2 separate regions of the Homo sapiens genome follow, and region 1 is linked to region 2. The links are contacts of gene promoters, found by promoter capture Hi-C in blood cells and fetal thymus (Javierre and others, 2016). All regions are on one chromosome and are shown on one strand. Each heading gives the region's core, a stretch centred on a gene start or on the middle of the fragment in contact. The rest is flanking DNA. Distances are from core to core; before and after follow the strand shown.

Evidence for each region. The method cuts DNA at HindIII sites, captures the fragments that hold promoters and counts their contacts. A CHiCAGO score of 5 or more calls a contact.
Region 1: a fragment that was not itself captured here is called in contact with the fragment with the promoter of LINGO1 in region 2 in 2 of 17 cell types (endothelial precursors and M1 macrophages); the score reaches 6.4 in endothelial precursors.

What each region holds. Positions count from the first base shown.
Region 1 is chr15:77,849,247-77,857,092 of GRCh38, forward strand. No RefSeq gene overlaps it. Among named protein-coding and RNA genes, the nearest start is that of LINGO1-AS2, 190 kb to the left of the region's middle. The HindIII fragment of the contact is 1,889 bases long and covers 3,896-5,784 here.
Region 2 is chr15:77,628,438-77,635,262 of GRCh38, forward strand. LINGO1 (leucine rich repeat and Ig domain containing 1) reads right to left here and starts at 4,475. Exons shown (of 2, transcript NM_032808.7): 1 at 3,873-4,475. The coding sequence starts at 3,878. LOC105370906 (a long non-coding RNA gene) reads left to right here. Exons shown (of 4, transcript XR_001751806.2): 4 at 1,848-2,024. RefSeq lists enhancers at 1,334-1,899, 5,294-5,857, 5,299-5,428. The HindIII fragment of the contact is 14,548 bases long and covers 1-6,825 here.

The sequences.
Region 1 (7,846 bases), core at 3,590-6,089, 220 kb after region 2:
TGGCAATGATTTCTTGGCTATGACAACAAAGGCACAGGCAACAAAAGAAAAAAACAGGTAAATTGGATTTCATCAAAATTTTAATACTTCGTACATCAGAAAACATTGTCAACAGAGTAAAAAGGCAACCCATGGAGCAGATATTTACAAACCATGTATCTGATAAAAGATTAATAGCTAGGGCTGGATGTGGTGGCTCACACCTGGAATCCTAGCACTTTGGGAAGCTGAGGTGGGTGGATTGCCTGAGCTCAGGAGTTCAAGAACAGCCTGGGCAACATAGTGAAAACTCGTCTCTACCAAAATACCAAAACTTTGTGAGGCATAGTGGTGCGTGCCTATAGTCCCAGCTACTTGGGAGGCTGAGGCACAAGAATTGCTTGAATCTGGGAGGTTGCAGTGAGCCATTGTAGCACTGCACTCCAGTCTGGGTGACAGAGTGAGACTGTCTCAAAAAAAAAAAAAAAAAATTAATAGCTAGAATGGGCTGGATGAGTTGGCTTACACCTGTAATTCCAGCAGTTTGGGAGGCTGGAGTGGGTGGCTTACTTGAACTCAGGAGTTTGAGACCAGCCTGGCCAACATGGTGAAACCCCATCTCTACTAAAAATACAAAAATTAGCCCGGCCTGGTGGCAGGCACCTGTAATCCCAGCTACTCGGGAGGCTGAGGCAAGAGAATCACTTGAACCCAGGAGGCGGAGGTTGCGGTGAGCTGAGATCGCACCACTGCACTCCAGCCTGGGCAACAAGAGCGAAACTCCATCTCAAAAAAAAAAAAAAAAAAATAGAAATAAAGAAACTATAACCCATGCTACAATTTGGAGGAATCTTGAGAACATTATGCTAAGTGAAATAAACCAGCCAAAAGAGCAGATATTGTATGTTTCCACTTACATGAGGCATCTACAATAGTCAAAATCACAGAAATAGATATGTTAGAATGGTGGTTGCCAGGGACTTGAGGGAGGGGGAAATGGGGAATTATTTAATTGTACAGAGTTTCAGTTTTACAAGATTAAAACAGTTATGAATCTGAATGGTGGTGACAGTTGCACAACATTATTAATGTATTTAACAACAACAACCCTGCACTTTAAAATGGTTAAGGTGATACATTTTATGTTAGGCGTATTTTACCACAATGAAAAAAATTGGAAAAAAGTAACCACTAAAGGTTATAAATACAATTTATAGCTTGTGAGGTGCAGCTAAGGCAATATTTGGAAGCAAATGTATAGCCTTCAATGAATTTACGAAAGTAGAGAAAAGATTCAAAGCAAATATCAGTGATTTAACTCAAAAAGGAAGAAAAAGAACAAAAGAATAAGCCCAAAGAAAGTAGAAGGAGGAAAAGAGAAAAGAAAGGAGCAAACTTTTTTTTTTTTTTTAATTGAGACAAGGTCTCGCTCTGTCACCCAGGCTGGAGTGCAGTAGCCCAATCTTGGCTCACTGTAGGCTCAACCTTCTGGGCTTAAGCGATCCTCCCACCTCAGCCCATCAGTAGCTGGGACTACTGGTGCACACCACAAAGCCCGGCTAATTATTTTTGTATTTTTAGTAGAGACAGGATGTCACCATGTTGCCCAGGCTGGTCTTGACCTCCTGGGCTCAAGCCATCTGCCCGCCTTGGCCTCCCAAAGTGCTGGGATTATAGGCATGAGCCACGGCACTCAATGAAAACTTTTTAAAATTGGAAACAAAAAAAAAAAAAAGAGAGGTAGAGAGGTGAAACAATTTCATCTATCATAACCGAACTGCAGAGTCTCATTTTACATCCTGTAAAAACTTTTCATTCTGTGTCTATCTTTGAAAAGTTATAACTTGTTTGGGTAGTCCCATTATACCTGATTTTTTTGGAGGTTTGAGGATGGACTTTAGATAGAGGCATGAATGTGTTGACCAAGGCGCCGGGGGAGAAATCTTTGCCAGATACTTTTAGGACCCTAGCCTCATGTTTATCCTGTCAACACCCAGGGAAGTGGGGAGTGGCTGAGGGTCAGAGAGGCACAGGCGCTTGTCTGTGGTCACGTGATGATTAATGGCACAGCTAGAAATGGAACGCAGGTTGCCTCCCCTCACCACCCCAGCTTTTCCCCTCTCCCCAGACCACCCCCAAGATGCAGGGAGATTGTGAAGTCTCATTCCTGGGGCTGATTCAGACCAATCTTGTGTACGAGACCTCGTTCCCCAGGCCAGAGACAGGCAATGCCAATGCCCCAGGGGATGCTGTTTAGCAGTCCAGCCTCCCCTCACTCTCTCTTGGGGAGTCTGACAGATCTTAGAACCAGATGGAGCTGTGGCATTGATGGACAGAGCACTGTCTCCATCACCTGGTGTCTGAGGCTCACCTTTACTCGCAATCAGCAGGAAGGATTGTCTTACAAGTCCAGAGATAGAGCATTCAAGGTGGACAGAAAAAAAGCTCTTGTTAGAAAATCATCATTCTTCTTTGCAGCTGCTTAAAGTGAGGCCCAGCCATCCCTTAGTTAATATCTCCGCCTACTTGGGAAGAAAGGTAAATCATTGACAACTGCTCATGAGAGTGACTTGGCCCAGCAGTGCGCTTATAAAACCCCGGACTGGTAAAGTCCCTCATCTGTGAAATGTCCTTCCCCAGAGAGCTTCTAGAGTGCACAGGCATCCAGCGATCTGTGGGCACAATTAGAGCAGAGGCTGGATGCAGCTCTGGGCTCTCTGCCAGGCCAGCTCTGCCACTTCTCTCCCTTTGTGGGCTCCCATTGATTGAGTCAGGATGGCATCGGATTCCCCCACGAGCTCTGACCTAATGGGTTGGACTCTAAGGCAGCCTTGAAGAGAGTCACCAGCCCACCAGCCTGGGGCTAGTAACACGTATCCCAAGGGGAAAGAGGAGTGATGCCCCCATTGCCTGGAACTCCCGGGGAGTAGAGGGAAAGCAGGTCCCACCCAATTCCTTCACACTGTCACAGTCTTAGAAGAAAACATTGTACAAATTCACATCGAAGACTCAAAAATAAGTCACGGAGCAGTCAGGGCTAAATGAAGCCTCAGAGCACATTAGCTCAATCCCCTTATTGCTCTGGGCAGGAGATGGAGGCCCAGAAAGGGTGAGCCCCCTGCCCAAGCTCACACAACAGGGAAGCGGACCTGAGTCTGCAGCCTCCAGAGTTGCAGCAGTTGCCGGCACCTCACAAGCTCGAGGCCTGTGGCAACGGGGACCGAATCTCCACTGCCCAAAGCGGAAGCCTCAGGAGCAGAAGAGAGAGGAAAAGGAGGGGAGAACAGAGCGCAAGGGGCAGGAAGGGGCATGAATTTGCTCAGTCCAACTGCAGCTTGATCAATTACAAACGGGGTGTGGCAGCAGAGCGGCTGCTGGAACCACAGCTCCCCGGAGCCCCATCAGTCAGCGATATAGTAATAAAGCGACCAGGGCTGGAAAAATGCTATGAGACTCCAGGGAGTTCAGTCTCATCCCGCTGGATTATAACCCTGTTATCGACACCCCAGGGACTTATTCTGTTTCTTTCAACCCAGCTCGGGAGATGAAACCTTCCGCGGGCGCTAGGGGTGGGGTGCTGGCTGGTGGGATGCAGCCCAAACCCAAAGGAACGGCTGGGAGCAGGAGAGGCAGGAGCGGGAGTGGGTTCAGCCAGAGGCACGTCTGCCAGACATATCTGGGGCGACCCTTCTCCCTGACCCCCAACTCCAGTGTCCACTGAGGCCTCAGCTATGCACTGGGCTGTGCTGTGGGGGTCAGAGGGAGGAGAAGCTGGGGGCCTGGCCTGGGAGTCCCAGAGTGCCTGGGGCACAGTCCTCACATGCCAAAAGATCAAAAAGAATAGCAGATACTCAGCGGTTCAGCTGCTGAAATGCACAAGACAGAAAGCGCCCTGGAGGTTTCAGAGTGGAGGACAAGCTTCCTGGAGGAGGCGAGGCCACACCAGCGATCGAAGGGTCATAATTCTGTTGCTGAACGTTGGCCACAGTTTTCTGCAGGCCTCCACCTCCTCCTTATCCTTGCATCCAGGGTCAGAAACTGTCCTAAACAGCAGGTGTTCTCTGACTATAAAACTCTCCTGGCAACCCAGTGCGTCCAGGAAGAAGTCAGAATTCCATCACATAATAATAAAATTCAGCCATAAACAGAAATGAAATTCTGATACATGCTACAACATGGGTGAAACTTAAAATCGTTATACTAAATGAAATGAGCCAGACACACAAGCACACGAGGACAAATGTTTTACGATTCCACTTACATGAAGTATCTAAAATAGGCCAATTCATAGAGACATGAAGTAGTAAAGAGGTCACCAGAGGCTAGGGGAAGGGGGACGGGGACTAACTGTTTAGTGGGTACAGTTTCTGTTTGAGATGATGCAGAAGTTCTTGAAATGGATAGTAGTGATGTTTTGTTTGCACAACATTTTGAATGCACTTAACGCCACTGAATTGTACATTTAAAAACGGTTAAAGGCCTGGAGTGGTGGCTCACACCTATAATCCGAGCACTTTGGGAGGCTGAGGCAGGAGGGTTGCATGAGCCCAGGAGTTCGAGACCAGCCTGGGCAACATGGCAAGATCCCCTGCAGTGGGCTTCTGTCCTGGCCACTGCAAATAACTCACTGCCTCCTATTGGCACCAGGTCCTGTCATGGCGCTGCACATGCTATTCTCTTGTCCTGGAATTCCAGCTCTTCTCCTCTTCCTGGATAACACGAGCTGGTTCTTCAAGACTCCACTGGTACACCACCATCTCAGTGAATTCCCCTACCGACGTGTTCCCTACACAAGCAGAGTCAGAGGCACCCTCATCTGGGGACCCACATCTCCTGGGCTGCCCACATCAAGGTCCCTAATTTGTGGGTACATACAACAATGCCACCCTCTTGAAGTGGGGCTGGACGAGGCAGCCCAAGACATCACAATAAAGATTCCAGCATGCCAGGCACACGCCGATAGCCCCAGCTATTTGGAAAGCTGAGGTGGAAGGATGCTTGAGCCCAGGTGTTCAAGATCAGCCTAAGCAACATAACCAGACCCTGTGGCAAAAAAAAATGAAAAGATTCCAGGATCACTTCCCGTAGGTACTCTTAATTAAAGCCGCAACAAGCCACATGACTGATCAGAGGTAGGATATGGGTTCTTTCTCCAGCATTTCAGATGTGAATGTAAGCCATTGCTCAAAAGCAGTGGAAGCATTGCTATAACATTAGGGTCAAGCTGAATATTAACTTCCCAAGGGAATGCAGGGATATTTTGGTCCACCAGCAACTGAGAATAAAAAAAAGAAGATAAAGACCAGGAGAAGATCAAAAGCACATCTGAAAGCTGCAGCCAGCCTATCTCTCTAGGGAAATTTTAAAGTGACCCAACTAGAAGAATTAAAAACAGGTATTAGCTCAGGAACTTTATGATCTATAAAAATAATACCCATCAATCAAGATCTGGTTTCTCATTCTATCCCAGTATAGATGATGCCAAATTTACGTAAATAAAATCATGTTTATTAGATAGGCAGAGAGAGACATGGAGACATATATGACTAGACATACTTAGATTTATAAAATCGCAATGAGACTTAGACACCTGCACATCTTATGTGTCAGCAAAAACAGTGATTTATTTATGTCTCTGTTTCCTCAACTTGACTATGAGCTCCTTGAGGGCAGGTCCTTTATCTCTGTGGTCCCACTGTAACGGAGTACCACACATAAAAGGAAGGAAATAAATGTCTGCTTTGTAAATGAATGAGTTATTCTTTGCATCTCCAGCACCCAGCACAATGGGTGTTTCTCAGAGGAAGCTTCCCACCTGACATGCTGCCCTCACCTGCACCCCAGCTCTGCCTCCCATTGTTAAGATGAGAGCAGCAGGAAGCAGAAGTTGCTGCACAGAGGGGAGGGTTGTGCACTGGCTCCTTGCTCAGCTGGCTGGGAGGGACCACAGAGAATTGAGGAGCCTCCACCCTGAGAGGCTGGACTGCCTGGGACCTGGGGCCTGAAGACTGAGGCAGGAGCTGCACAGAACTCTCAGGAGCTGCAAGTAGCTCAAAATCTGCAGCTTGGACTGATGAAATCAAAATGAAGTTGCAAGAAGAGACCATTCACAGGAGCAGTGTCCATTACAGCAAACAAATTAGAACAACTTAAATGCCTTTTGAAAGGAAAATGGATACATGGGGGCAGAATCTTTCCATGGAATACTGTACTGCAATGAAATTGAAAAAAAAAAAAGACCACTATGTACAATAGTATGTGTGAATCTTAACATGATGTTGAGTGAAAAAGTAAATCTCAGAAGATCATATATAACACGATGCCTTTTTATAAAGATCACAAACAGCTCAAATCAGCAATGTATTGCTTAGGCATCCACAGATATGTGGTTGTGGCGGAATTACCCATGTTCAATGAGTCTTCTGGTTCTTCCTTCATTTTGGAAGGCATTTTTCCTTCATGCCCTCTTGAAATTAGGGATAGCCTTGGGAAGAGCTTTGGCCAGTAAAATGTCAGCAAAAGTGCTCGGCATCACTTTTGAGCAGAAACGTCTAAGAGCTGGCACATATTTCTTATTCTTTTCCTCCCCCAACCAAAGCAAACCCCAGAACTTAGAGTTGAAATGGCAGTATCATTAGATAGTGGCTGTGCCATCCACATGCCTGGGTCCCTGAGTGCCTGCAATGAGCAGAGCCTCTGCCAAACTGCATTGGCAGAAAAAGAAGCCTCTTTCAGGGCAAGCCACTGAGACTGGGGGTTGTTACTGTGGTGTAACCTAGTTTATCCTAACTGATACAGAAACAAATTTAGGCCAGGCGTGATGGCTCATGCCCATAATCCTAGCACTTTGGGAGGCCCAGGCGGGCAGATCAGTTGAGCTCAGGAGTTTGCAACCAGCCTGGCCAACATGGTGAATCCCCATCTCTACAAAAAATACACACACACACACACAAAATTTAAAAATTTAGCTGATCATGGTGGTGAGTGCCTATAGTCCCAGCTACTCACAAGGCTAAGGTGGGAGGATCACTCGAGCCTGGGAGGTGGAGGTTGCAGTGAGCTGAGATCGTGCCAGTGCACTTCAGCCTGGGCAACAGAGCAAGACTCTGTCTCCAACAAAAAAAAAAAAAAAAAAAAGGAAAAAGGAAAAGCAGAGATAAATTTATGTTTGAAAGGGCAAGAGGGCCTGGACATAGTGGTTCACACCTGTAATCTAAGCACTTTGGGAGGCCAATGCAAGAAGATCACTTGAGGCCAAGAGTTTGAGGCTTCAGTGAGCTATGATCACACCCCTGCACTCCAGCCTGGGCAACAGGGAGAGACCCCATCTCTTAAAAAAAAAAAAGAAAAAAAAGATAAGGGAGTAATACATACAAAATTCAGCATAGTGCTGACCTCTGAGGAGGCGGCAGGGAGAAGGGAGAGGGACAGAGGGAGGGGCACAAAGGTAGGTACAAATATTGTTAAGGTTCCAGATCTTGGGTTGAGCTCTGAGTTTAAAGGTGCTTGCTGTGTTATTGCAAACACATTTATTAATTACAGTGGCCCTGCATGAGCCAATAGTAACAGTGCATCCTAACTAGGGGGTGTGATTAACTCAATTGTGTGTACCTGAGGTTCATTTAAAAAGGAAAAGAAAAGGACTATTGCTCAACTATGAGCTGGAAACTCAGTACTGGGTGTGCCCAAGGGGAGCATGCAATCTCATCTTGTAGGCAATGGGCACCCACTGAGGGTATAGGGGAGGGCAAGGGTGGGGCTCAGAGGTGTGTTTTTTCTCCTAATTCCCTAAGGTCCAGGACCTGAGATTCCATTCCCCACAGCCCCTCCTCCAGGCCCCCAGGAAACTCTCACTCTAGCCAGCTGG
Region 2 (6,825 bases), core at 3,225-5,724:
AAGGCAAATTCCAGAGGACTGCACACAGTTCATGCTCTTTTTATAAAGTTCAAAAATAACTAAAACTGAACTACTTATATATGTTAAAATATATAATTTTAAAGAGGCAAGGGATTGTGAAATACATAATTTAGAGTAGTCATTGAAAAAGAGGCAACGGGACGGGGTGTGCAGGAGCACATGGGGAGATGTACATCATTACTGGATTGCTGGTGTTTAAGTTGGAGAGTAGGGTAACAGTGTTCATTATAGTATTATTACTGCTACTACGATTAATACTAAATGCCTCGATTAATTAATTAACAGGCTGGGCCTGGATTAGTGAGTAAGAGCCCCAGCCCAGAGGTCAGGAAGAAGGCATTCTAGACTGAACCGCAGGCTTGCAAGCTGGGGACTCACAGCAAGTCACTCGCCACCTCTCTGGCTCTGTTTTCTTGGGTATAAAATCAAACCTCTGCACCTACCACCTACAAGGATAAGATCATGAGCATATCACTGATGTAAACTATGAGTAGCTAGCACTTATTACAGGCTTACTGTGTACCAGGCAGTGTTCTAAATGTTTTGCATATGTTAGCACACCTAATTGTCACGACCTCCCTTGAGGTGGATACTATTGTTACTCTCACTTTATAGATAAGGAAACAGGCCCAGAGAGATTAAGTAACTTGCCCAAAGTCACAGAACTAGGCAGTGGTGGAGCTGAGACTTGAGCCCAGACTTTTGGCTCCAGGGTCCACATTCTTAACAACTTCACTATGAAATAACATTGAAGAAACTGAACACACACAAGTAGATTGTTGTCAGCACAGCTCTACTGAGCCCACAGCACCCAGGGATATTCATTCGTTCGCTTGTTCGTTCATTCATTCATTCATTCATTCTTCCACAACCAAACAGAGGTCAGCATCAAGAATGCCTTAAATGTATTGGGAAATGAACCTGCCTTCTCACACTCTTTCTACAAAGAACCTTCCCTGATTCTGGAGTCCCCTGCTCTCTGTGTCTCTGCAGTCTGCTGCTTCCCTAGGACTCAGCCAGTCTCCCTCTCTTCCTAAAGCACCTCTGACAACCTCAACCCCCAGGGAGAAATCTCACCCTTCTCTGAGTGCCTGTGTGGGCTACTGAGTACCCTGTCTGTCTCTTCTCAACCCCTGCCTGGGGCATCTTTGACATCATCTAGCTCTGTGCATTCATGCACAGATAGTCCTTGCCGCTAGCCAATAGCTACTCCCTTGTACCTCCAAGGGTCTGTCCCATCCCAGGGGCCAGGCAGGAGGGCAAAAGGAAGGGTACTAGGATTGCTCAGGGTGTTCAAGGCAGATCATGCTTAGCCCAGAGCCGAGCAGGCAGCTTGGCTAGGATGTGCAGAACAAATGCATGCGTGACTGGGCTGGTACAATATTCAGTGCAAACAAGTGTGGTTCTATGCTGTGGGTGACTGGAGAAGGAGGGGCAATGACTTGAAGCAGGCAGAGAGGCTTCTTGGAGGAGGGGGTCAGGAGAAGGAGAGGAAAGGACCTTTTGTGAGGGGATGCGGGGCCAAGCCAGGTGAGGATGGGGGGATACGTGGAGGAACTGGTGGAAACAGAACAGAAAGCCTCCAGAGACTAACCATGGAGGTGGGTGGGGCTGGAAGGCCACTTCCACAGAGTGCCACACACAGGACAGCTAGCCCAAGAGACTCCAGCCAGCAAGCTAAGGCCCTGACTCTGAAACCACCACACCTACTACCCACCGCCCCCCACCCTTCCCTGGCTCCACTTCCCCTACCCTCCACTGGACACGCTGCCTCATGCCTCCGTGGGACCCTGCACGAATGACTGCACTGCCTTATCTCCCAACAGGAACACGCCCCAACCCCAATTGTGCTTCTCCAGATATCTGCGGCTGAAGGCGCCTGAAGAGCAGCACCACACATGAGCCCTCACCGGCACCAGGGATCCCGTCTAGCCTCATGCAGAACAACCACCCACCTCCACAAGAGGTTGTTTTTTGGGGGGTTGGGGTGGGGGAGGTGTCCCTCTGGGAGTCTGGGTTTTAGAAAACAATACCCAATATAGGAGAAATGGATGCCCAGAGGACAGAGGATGAAGATGAGCCCAGATGAAAGAGGACTATCGCAAGGGGTAAGTCTCTCCACCTCCCTCCCAGTCACACAGGGCCCTTGGCTTTGAGCACATGCCCATCCCCCTAAAAGCTGGTTCCCACTCTTTAACTCCAGAACCTGGGGAACACTGCAGCTTTAACTAAGCCCTACCCAGGGGCTCACACTTAAATTGTCAGGGGGTGAGGAGGGGGGCAGAGACAAGAACACCACAGGGTGCCTGTCCCTGCCTTCGCTAAGCCCCTTCCAGGAGGGGCAGCTGGGTGCTGCTGGGATCCCCGATGTGAGTCTGTGCCCTCTTTCAGCACGGTTCCAAGGAGTTATTGGTCTCTCCCCGGTGCCACCCTATACCCTCCCTCCCACCTCGGGCCACGGGTAGAAAGCAGGAAGGACAGGCATGCCATCCCAGTAGACCTGCTGCTAGTGCCTTCCCAGAGGCGTGAGGATTTTGAGCTCCTCCCTGGCTTATACAAGGACAAAGGGTCTGGGAGCAGCTGGCCCTCTTCTCCTCACTGACACTCTGCGCTGGATCTGGGGAAGCCCCAGGCTCTCTGCCGCCTGGGTGTCCCGGCTCATTGCTCCCTGGGCATGGGAGGCACCAGTGCTGAAGCCACTGGCATAATGACCAACAGGGTTGAGCCCAGAGCCGCGGGCCAGGCTGGGCTATGCGCCCTCTGGCTGCCCAAACCAAGCAGAGGACTGAGGGAGGGCTGGGCGAGCAGGAAGGGGCTGTCCAGATGCCACAGCCCCTACCTCAGGGCCTCCTGCACTCCCACCCGCTCAGGGCAGAGCTCTTCCCATCCTCTCAGGCCCCCTTCTGCCCCACCCCAACCCCAAGGCCTCTGAGAACAAAGAGGAGGTGCAGGCACAGTCAGGCTGGACCAGGCTGGGCTGCGACCCCAGCAGGAACCGGGAGGGGCTGCCCACTGGCCTGGCCCCACCCCTCCTTCTCAAAGTGGGATCCGCCCGGAGGGTCACATCTCCTGGCATGCCTTGAGAGCAGAGAGCCCACAGCCCACCCCGAAAAGGGTGTGAGGGGGAGCAGGAGGCTCCCTCCTTACCTCCCTCTTCTCAGCTGGTTCCCACCTCCCACCCGCTCTGCCTTAGAATGAAAAGTGGGGCAAGAGGAGGTGAGAAGCCCGGGCTGAACGCAGACAAAGGGGAGGCCCCTAAAGCGTTCCTGGGCGCTCCCGGTCCCCAACTCCCTTCCTTCCACTCTCCCTACTCCCCATCTCCTTTTCACTGGGCAGGAGCTGGAAAGGGGCGATGCTTGTGTGTGGTGGGGAGCTGCCATCCAGGCTGGAGCTTGTGGAGAAACCCAGCCCCTGACCTGTGTCCACCAGCTAGGGAGTGTCTGGTGCTGGTGGGGGCTGCCTGGGGGTACCTGGGGTCCACGAAGGGAGGTACCCACCCAGGGCTGAGCAGGGGGCTTACCCTCTAGAGTGACCAATACTCAGAATGGGAGGGGGGACAGGAAGGGGAGACCAGAGCAGGTCTGGGACACCCGTGGGGGCCCCTCCCCAGCTCCAGGCTCCCAGCTTACAAACCCGGAATTTGTTGGGGTTGGAGAGAGGGGAGGTGGAAAAGGAAGAATTTTCATTTCTGAGGCTTGAGGGGAAATCAGGCCTATGACCCCAAAGGAGGTCTGGGTGGCACCGAGGTGCCCTGCAACCCCAGGAGGGCGCAGCCAGGGCCGATGGCGGCCCCCAGGGGCACTCGCCGCGGGGCTGCCCGCTCGGGGCTCGGCCGCGGCCGCCTGGCTCACCTGCATCTCGGGCGCGCCTTCGGTCCGCTCGGCTCGGTCACCAATCGCATGTCTCTCCAGCCGGCCCGACCAGGCCCCAGCCCCTGCCCAGCCCCCTCCTCCGTTTCCTCCTCCTCCGACACCTCCGCCCGGCAGTCCGCGCGCCCTCGCGGGGCTGGCTGTCCGTCTGTCCGCCCCGCGCGGGCGGGAGCCGAGCCGGAGCCGGGGCCGGGGCTCGGGAGTGGGGAGGCGGGAGGCCGCGGCCCCGGCGGGCGGATGGGCGGGCGCGCTCAGGCCGCGGGACAGGGGCTGCGCGAGCCTGCTTCTGCCCCCTGGGCCGGCCCGGAGCCGCCGCCGCCGCCTCTGCCGCTGGGGCCGGGGTCGAGGCCGGGCGCGCTCCGCCGCGGGGCCGGGGCCGGCGGGCAGCGGCCGCGCATGCTGCTCGGCGCCCCGCGTCGGGAGAGGGGCCGGAGCGGCGCGGGTGGGGACTCCGCGCCCTCCGGGGCCGGGACCAGGACCCACCGCCGCCGCCGCCGCCTGCGCTGTCGCCCGCCGCCCGCTCCGGCTCCCGCGCCGGCTCCCGCTCGGGCTCCGCGCTCTGCAGCGGCGCGGGGAGGGAGCACTAGGAGCGAGCCAGGGAGGGAGGAGGGATCGAGGGAGGAGGGAGCGAGTGAGCCGCGGGAGCCGGGCGGGGGAGGAGAAGGCGCGGCCGCAAAACCTGGTGATGGTGGTGGTGGGGTGGGGGGTGGTTCGTCTCCTTTCAGCGGAGGGGGCGGAGAGCGAGGGGCGCCCCAGCCGCTGCCCTGCACGCTTAGGGCAGCGAAACAGGCAGGGGTGCGCAGGCGAGGGGCGCACCAGCCAGGCGCTCCAGCTCTGCACACGGCCGCGCCCCTCCGGGTCCGGGGCTCTGGGCGAGTCCCGGGCCAGCCGGGTGTCGGGGAGTCCGGCGTGCGGTCCTCCCTGGGTGTATGCGCGCACACCGTTGTGTGTGATTTTTGTGTTGCCACATGCGTGTGCATGTGAGCGCGCGAGTGTGTTTACACGTGTTAACTGGGCTGTGGACGAACACACGCACGAGGACGGACAGGGCTCCCTACACGAACAGGGTTGTTTGGAGGGCGGCATGGGGAGGCCGACCGGGAGCCCCCGTCCTGGCCCTGTCCCCTCCTCTCGAAAGTCCGCGAGGCTAGAGGGCCCACATTCTAGCGCGGGAGGGCGAGGCAGGCAGAATGGGAAGCTCCAGGGGACGGCGAGGAAGCCGCGCTGGCCCGGCAGCTCTACCCAGGAGCCGGGGTCCCCGCCCAGCCTGGCTTCCTGTCCAGCAGAGGGCGGCAGGCCTCTCTGGCCCGCTCCGTCCGGAGGCCCTGCACCCAGTGGCCAGCAGAGGGCAGCGCAGAGCCTCCGCCTGGGCTTGACTGTTCCCTCCTCCCGGAATGGTCCCGGGGATCCTCGGCTGGGGCCACAACTTCAGACGGGCCCAAGGAATGGGACCTCTCCTCGGAGATCCAGATCCTCCTTGATCCTCAGATACAGAAACTAGGCCAGCAGGGATGTCTTGGCAAAGCCTGCAGAGTAGGTTACCACCCTCAGGACCTCACCTTTTTCCCTATACTACCCCCTCCATCTCCTTGAAGCCAGACGCCCTTTACCACCAAGCCAGTTTTATTAGAATAACCATCAATGCTGACACCGCCCGGCACGGCCATCCCTCCTCCCCTGCTGGGAACAACCCATTAGCACATGAATACTCCTAATAGCTTGAGTCCACAGGGGCAGCTGAGGCTGGGGGAGGGGATCTAGCCCAAAGCCTCTCGGATTCTGGGGCAGACGCTGGAATCCCAGTTCCAGTGACACCCCCTCTCCCAGGAAGCCTGCGCAACATCATTGCAGAGATGCCTGGTTGCCACGGAGGGACCTCTCCCCACCCCCAACAGCACCTTGTTTCTCGCTGTTCAGCCTCACACACAGCCCAAAGGCTTGCACAGACCTTCTGTTCCAGCTGCACCATTTCTGGGTACTTCTCAGTCTCTCTGGCACACCGTTGCTCTGGACAGTCCTGTCTGGAGCACTTTCTCCTGTCTCCTATGTCTATGCCCATCCTCAACCTAGGCCTAGCTAGAGTCCCTCCTAGCAGGCGTCCATGCTATGCTCTACTGTGAACTGTACGTTCACCCTCCAGCAACTCTGGGGGAGGCACTATTGTTCCCCTGTGACAGAGGGAGGGAAGCCCAGGCCCAGAGAGGTTCCAGGCTCTGCCCATGGTCACACAGCCAGCAAGCCACGGAAAGGGAACTGGACTCGTCTTCTATGGCTGAATGGACCAGCAGGGGGCAGGCTCGGCAGAAGGACTTACAGGTGGGAGGTGAAGCAGGGAGGCCAGCACAGGAGTCCCCCTCCCTGCCAGAGCCCAGCGCAGGCGACTCCCCGGTCCCTCAACTCCGCGCTGCCTGGACCCCTCCCCAGACTCCCCAGCCCCCCCACCCCGGCTGTTTGTGAGCTACCCGTGCGCTCCCGCCCTCCCGCGCCGCCTCCTCCCACCAGCCCGACAGGAATAGACGCTCGCTGGCTCCTGCGTAAAGGCTCCGCCAGGCACCCGGCGGGCGCGCAGACCCGCTGGGGGGCGGGGGCGGGGGCGAGGGCTATTCCTGGTGCGGTGACTGACGCAGGCAAGGCGCGGCCACCACATCTCTCCGCCCCCGACTCACCTGCTCCCTGCCTCAGTGATCTCGGCGGAGAAATGGGGGAGAGCCCACTCATTCCACCCCGCTAACCCCCAGGTGCTACCGGAGGAAGCTGGGGTCCTAGGGTGGGGTATTTTGGTGCCCACAATGATCCCTCCGCGCCTCGGAGGCAGCAGGGATGACCACGGAGCTGTGTCTGGGAGGAAGAGCCCCTTGGCCTCGGTTCTCCACTGTCAATGGCATCCAAGCCATTCCCCTTTCCCTTTGTCTCCAAAAGACATGACCCCTCCCAG